Linked DNA regions of Homo sapiens: region 1 is linked to region 2. The links are contacts of gene promoters, found by promoter capture Hi-C in human tissues and cell types (Jung and others, 2019). All regions are on one chromosome and are shown on one strand. The core of a region is centred on a gene start or on the middle of the fragment in contact, and the rest is flanking DNA. Distances in the headings are between cores, read along the strand shown. Region 1 overlaps LOC124904014 (a long non-coding RNA gene). Region 2 holds the start of MAPT (microtubule associated protein tau).

What was found. Contacts are between HindIII fragments. The study calls those that stand out against the background at their distance.
Region 1: a contact is called between a fragment that was not itself captured here and the fragment with the promoter of MAPT in region 2, in 1 of the 25 tissues and cell types used here (mesendoderm cells).

The regions. Positions count from the first base shown.
Region 1 is chr17:46,274,326-46,277,202 of GRCh38, reverse strand. The region is part of intron 1 of LOC124904014 (a long non-coding RNA gene); the gene reads right to left. It also overlaps a transcript of LRRC37A not described here and a transcript of ARL17B not described here. Among named protein-coding and RNA genes, the nearest start is that of LRRC37A, 19 kb to the left of the region's middle. The HindIII fragment of the contact is 6,775 bases long and covers 1-2,877 here.
Region 2 is chr17:45,893,304-45,896,091 of GRCh38, reverse strand. It overlaps MAPT (microtubule associated protein tau), which reads right to left and starts at 1,538. Exons shown (of 13, transcript NM_001377265.1): 1 at 1,406-1,538. MAPT-AS1 (MAPT antisense RNA 1) reads left to right here and starts at 579. Exons shown (of 2, transcript NR_024559.1): 1 at 579-612. It overlaps MAPT-IT1 (MAPT intronic transcript 1), which reads right to left and starts at 309. Exons shown (of 1, transcript NR_024560.1): 1 at 1-309. RefSeq lists enhancers at 1-709, 710-1,595. The HindIII fragment of the contact is 9,010 bases long and covers 1-2,788 here.

The sequences.
Region 1 (2,877 bases), core at 341-2,840, 380 kb before region 2:
TGTAGCTTTTTAATATACTGAAGTTGACATAATTTTCAATAAAGCACATGGGAGCTGAATGGAGACGTTTGCTCAATTCTGCTTAAATAAACAAATTAGGCTGTGTGCAGTGGCTCACACCTGTGATCTCAACACTTTGAGAAGCCAAGGCAGGCAGCTCACTTGAGCCCAGGAGTTTGAGACCAGCCTGGGCAACATGGGGAAACCCCATCTCTACAAAAAATACAAAAAATTAGCTGAGCATGGTGGCACGTGCCTGTAGTCCCAGCTACCCAGGAGGCTGAGGTAGGAGGATCACCTGAGCCCTGGAGGTTGAGGCTGCAGTGAGCCATGATTGTGCCACTGCACTCCAGACTGGGCTACAGAGTGAGACCCTGTCTCAAAACAAACAAATCAAAAAAAAAAAAAAAAAGAAAAAAAGAAAAAAATTACAATGCAAAGAATTGTATAAAGACAACTTGCTGTTGCATTTTTAGGGAATTTCTATTGCTTTCCAGATTTAAGGTAGAATGAAACATAACTAGCCAGTTATTGAAACTTGATTTTATTATGGGTTTCCAGAATTTCCTTTGCCATATTTTCCCATTGTAATTTATGATCTCCAGCATTGTTTGCACATTGTTTTCATTACTGCACTTTGTTATAATTCATCATTTATACCATCCATATTCTTTCTTTTCTTACGGATTGTGATATCTTTAGTCTAAATTTTTAACTGGAATCAGAACTGGATGTTGGGGTCACTGTTTTATTGTACCTTGTGATTACGTAATCCAAAATTGCCCCCCAAAAAGTCAGGTTAGCTAATATAATTTTTTAATGTTAACGATGTATAGTGGTAAAAAATTTATTCTAGCAGCCACGTGAAACAATGTATTTAAAAATTGTAAACTATTGGAATACTGTATTTATCTGCTATTGCAATATAAATTTATCTGCTATTGCAATATAAAGTCCTTTGACTTAGTCCTGGTAACTGTACAGTAATTTGGTTTACTGACAAAAGTTGTGAGGCCAGCCTTGGTGGCTCACACTTGTAATCCCAGCACTTTGGGAGGCCGAGGCGGGCGGATCACCTGAGGTCAGGAGTTTGCGACCAGCCTGGCCAACATGGTGAAACCTCGTCTCTACAAAAAGTACAAAAATTAGCCGGGTGTGGTGGCAGGCACCTGTAATCCCAGCTACTCGGGAGGCTGAGGCAGGAGAATCGCTTGAATCTGGGAGGCAGAGGTTGCAGTGAGCCAAGATCGCGCCTTTGCACTACAGCCTGGGGACAAAAGCGAGACTTCGTCTCAAAAAAAAAAAAAATTGTGAATAAAACTGTGTGAAACTGGGAGACTTTCTGGACTTTAATAGAAAAATATGATTTTAAAATTGCTTTTTCTTTTGTTTTAGCATAATTTTTCCCTTTATATTCCCCTCATCCGTGTAAATAAACACACACATACACACACACACGCACCTTTCACCACAATGGTAATGCTTCTGTAAATGTCTCTATTTGTCCAGTTGCCTGAAAATGTTGTAATCTTTATTAGACAAATATATATACATACATATTTTAAATATTGGCTTTTTCCAGTGAGCTATTATGCTTAGTGTACAGTGAAAAGTTTTATTATTATAGGTTAAAAATTTCTTAATCGTTCTTTTCTATTCGCTTGCCAAGGGTGAATGAAAGAACATGGCTGCTTCTTCCAGATTTATTTACTTTGGCATCCGCATAAAGCATCATTTTCAAAAATGAAAGGTGCTCAATTGTTCCCTTTTTCTATACTCTGTAGGTCTCACAACAACAAACTGCAGTCTACAGCTTCCTAAAGTTCAGCATGTTAACCTAACATAAAACACAGCAAGAATCTTGTTGCCTGAACTATTTTAAATTAAGGAGCCAGATCTTTTTAGTGAGGCTATCCTGACAAGACTTGACCTAAACTTTGTTTTTATTGGTCATAACAGTCCAATTATATTATTGGCCAATTTTGTCCAATGGACAAGAAAAAAGCAAAGTTGCCAGGTGCGGTGGCTCACGCCTGTAATCCCAGCACTTTGGGAGGCCAAGGCGGGCGGATCATCTGAGGTCGGGAGTTCGAGACCAGCCTGACCAATATGGAGAAACCCCGTCTCTACCAAAAATACAAAATTAGCTGTGCATGGTGGCCTATGCCTGTAATCCCAGCTACTTGGGAGGCTGAGGCAGGAGAATCGCTGGAACCCGGGAGGCAGAGGTTGTATTGAGCCGAGATTGAGCCATTGCACTCCAGCCTGGGTGACAAGAACAAAACTCCGTTTCAAAAACAAAAAAAGGAAGAAAAGAAAAAGAAAAAAGAAAAGTCAACGACACCATTATCTTGTCAAGATCAAATGGTTTTATTATTGTGGCAGAAGCGAGAAAATTTTGTTTATTAAAAAAAAAAAAGAAAAAGAAAGCAAGAAACAATGATACTGTGGGGTCAAGTATAACTCCATGGAAATGCCACGTCTGCTCTTCAGTGAAGAAGCTGGTTTAGAGTCTCAAAGAAAACTTTTGACTGTATTTATTTATTGTTGCAAAAAAGATGCTTTTTTATTGCTGCCCTCATTTGTCAACTAATTATTTTTTCTTATAAAATCCAGCCACGGTTACATATAATCCATCCATATCTTATCAATGATTCCTGTACGTAAAAGTACAAGACAACCTCTAGATGTCTTTTCTTTCTATGAAAGGAGCTGCTATGTACACATGTGCACACACACACAACTGCGAATCAACAATGAGTTTATTGTTCATGGTAGATTAAAATCAAGCTTGCATAAAGGTTGGGCTAAGTGGTCCTGGACTACAGACTCTGGTGACTTGAATATAACAGTACAATTTGTCAATTACTCCACACC
Region 2 (2,788 bases), core at 289-2,788:
GGAGCGAAAAAGGAAAGAGAGGCGCATGGGCGTAGGGGGGAGGTTGACTGAACACCCTCAGAATAAAAGCCAGAAACCAGGGCTGGGAGCGCAGATCACGTAACCTCTACAGACAAAGCAAAGAGCCCCCGAAGAAGGTGCTGGGCGAACGCCCCCAGTGCTCACGCCCGCAGCAGCAAAACGCCAAGATTTCAGCGCTGATTGTCCCCCTCCCTTTAATGCCAGGCCCCGCCCTGTCCTATGAAGCCCGGCCACCCGGTTTGGCATGGCACCGTAAAGACGTGACACGCCGAAAAAAGATGGCACCTCGCGTTCCGAGGGGGAAAAAAAGGGGGGCTGGGGGCGGGAGTGGGAGGAGGCACAGCCTATCCTCCCCCTTCCTCGCCCACCAGGGTCCACACCCACTGCCGCAGTGAGGGGCGAGCCCTGCGCGCCAGCCCCGCGCCTCCGGCAGGGAGCGCACACGCCGGGCGCCCTGCGCTCCGAGCGCTGAGAAAGAAATCCGCCCCGAGATGCACCTGCAGCCCCGCGCCCATCCGTGCGTGGCTGCGGCTGTGCGTGCCCGCGAACGGGGACCAGCGGCCGCCGAGTCCGTCCACATCGCCAGGCCAGGTGAACCCTGCCTTTGCGAGCGTGCACAGTGGGATCCGCGCACTGTTCTCAGGCACGGCGCTGCTCGCGTCTCTGTGCCAGGCGTGCGCAGGGGGAAGGGCAACTAAAGTGACAGCGCGTGGACCCCTCCCCATCTCCTCGATTTCTCCCAGCCCCCAAATGTCCCCTACGGGTTTCTGAAGGAGGAAAAGGGGAGGGGGCCGGCCCCCGCCTAAAATCAGGGGCAGTGAAGGCCCTGTCGGAATCACTGCTCGGGAGGTGCAGGGAGGGGCGTGCAGGGAGTCATCTTTTCTAGAACCCGATCCACGTCTTTCTTAGAGCTGATGGCGAACAGCGGCAGGGACAGCGGATTTCAGATTCGGTTTCGGGGGTCGTTATCGGACCCCTCCACACACACACACACACACACACACACACACACACACACACACGCCCATTGCGGCAAAAGGCTGCAGTCGAGAGTGAAGGGCAGCCCCCTCCCCCAAGTCACCGCCGCCGCGCCCCACCCTGCCGGCACAGCCTCCACCTGGGGTCTGCGCGAATCTGGTGGTGAAGACCCTCCAGCACACACACACGCGCGCACTCACGCGTGCGTGCATCCCTTGCTCAGGTCCCTTTCCAGGCCGCCCTGGCCCCAGCCCCCGAGCAGGGGAGGCAGGGAGGGGCCCTGCGGTGGCCCCGACCGATGCCCGGCGCACGAAGCCCCAGTCTGCGGAGAGGGAGGGCGAGGGGCGGCGGCGCAGGGGTGCACAGAGGCGGACGGCGAGGCAGATTTCGGAGCCGCGGCGCTTACCTGATAGTCGACAGAGGCGAGGACGGGAGAGGACAGCGGAGGAGGAGAAGGTGGCTGTGGTGGCGGCGGCAGAAGGTGGGCGGTGGCAGCGGCGCTGCTGTTGGTGCCGGAGCTGGTGGGTGGCGGTGACTGCGAGGGCGCGCGCCGGCGAAGAGGGCGCGTTCCTGAGGCCGGCGGGCGGCGCAGGCGCGAGCAGCGGGAACGCGAGCCTCCCCAGGGGAGGGGGCGGGCAGCGCGGCCTCCGCGGGAGCCTTCTCCTCCGGCCACTAGTGGGCGCGCGCGAGCGCCCTGCCGCTCGGCCGTCCGGCGTCTCCCGGCTCGTTCCTCTCGGCGCTGCCCTTTCGCGGTCCCCCTCCCGCTACGCCTCAGGCCGCGGCGCTGACCGCAGCGCGCACGCGCGTTCCGTGGCGCACGCGCTTTCTCCACCTCCTGTAGTTGGAGTCTTTGTGTCGTTGCGGGGGTGGGTGTCCTCCTTCGGGCCATGCGGGGTCGGGGCAAGGCCAGTGGCTCCGCCGCTGGGTCCGCTGCCCTTTACTTTCAGTCAGCCTGGGGCGGTGTCCTCTCCTACAGAAGTCCTGAGCGGCCTTCCACGTGGCCGGCCCTCGAGTCCGTCCGCCCCGACCCTTCGTAGTCCCGAAACCGCCCCCCTGGCTAAGGTCTCTTTCCCCCAGGCTGCTTCCTTTCTCCTTGCTTTTTTCCCACCTTTTTTGTTACTGACCAAGGTGAATCCTTTCCTTAACAAATCGGCTTAAAGCAAGCTAACTCAGTTACAATACAGTAGAACTGTACTTAAAAAAAAAGAAACGTGAATCTAACCGTTACGTCAGAAAAAAAAATCTTAAATTAGACGAATTTCAAACAGTGCTTAACACATCGCAGAGCATTTGCAGTTATTTGTATCACGTCTTTTGAAACACCTTTATGCTGTAAATAGAGCTTGAAGTCTGAATGTTTAAGGGCCAGCTAGAGATTGTCCCCTGGAAGACGCACCTCAGCCTGAAACTGACCAGTGGTCCTCATTCTGCTGGTCGCCCAGGCCCCAGGCTTCGGCCTTAGCTTGGATTTTTCATTTCCCCAACATCAAGTTTAAGCCCAAGCAGTGGGATGATTTCTATGTAGGGGGGTTTAGGGCAGCCATCTCCTCCTAGGGAGATGGGAAGTTGTCTTGAAGCTCCAATTTGCATAGCTCTTATATTCTTTTTAAAAAATCAACATATGTTATAGATTAATAGAAAAAGCAAGTAAAATGCTTTATTCACACAGTTTCTGGAACTGACCTTTTTCTCCTTTTTTTTTTTAAATGCATATTAACTTTATTTTTAAACAGAGGGGCATATACCCAAAGAAGTAGGAGTGAGAACCACCATGGGGGCTTGCTCAAAG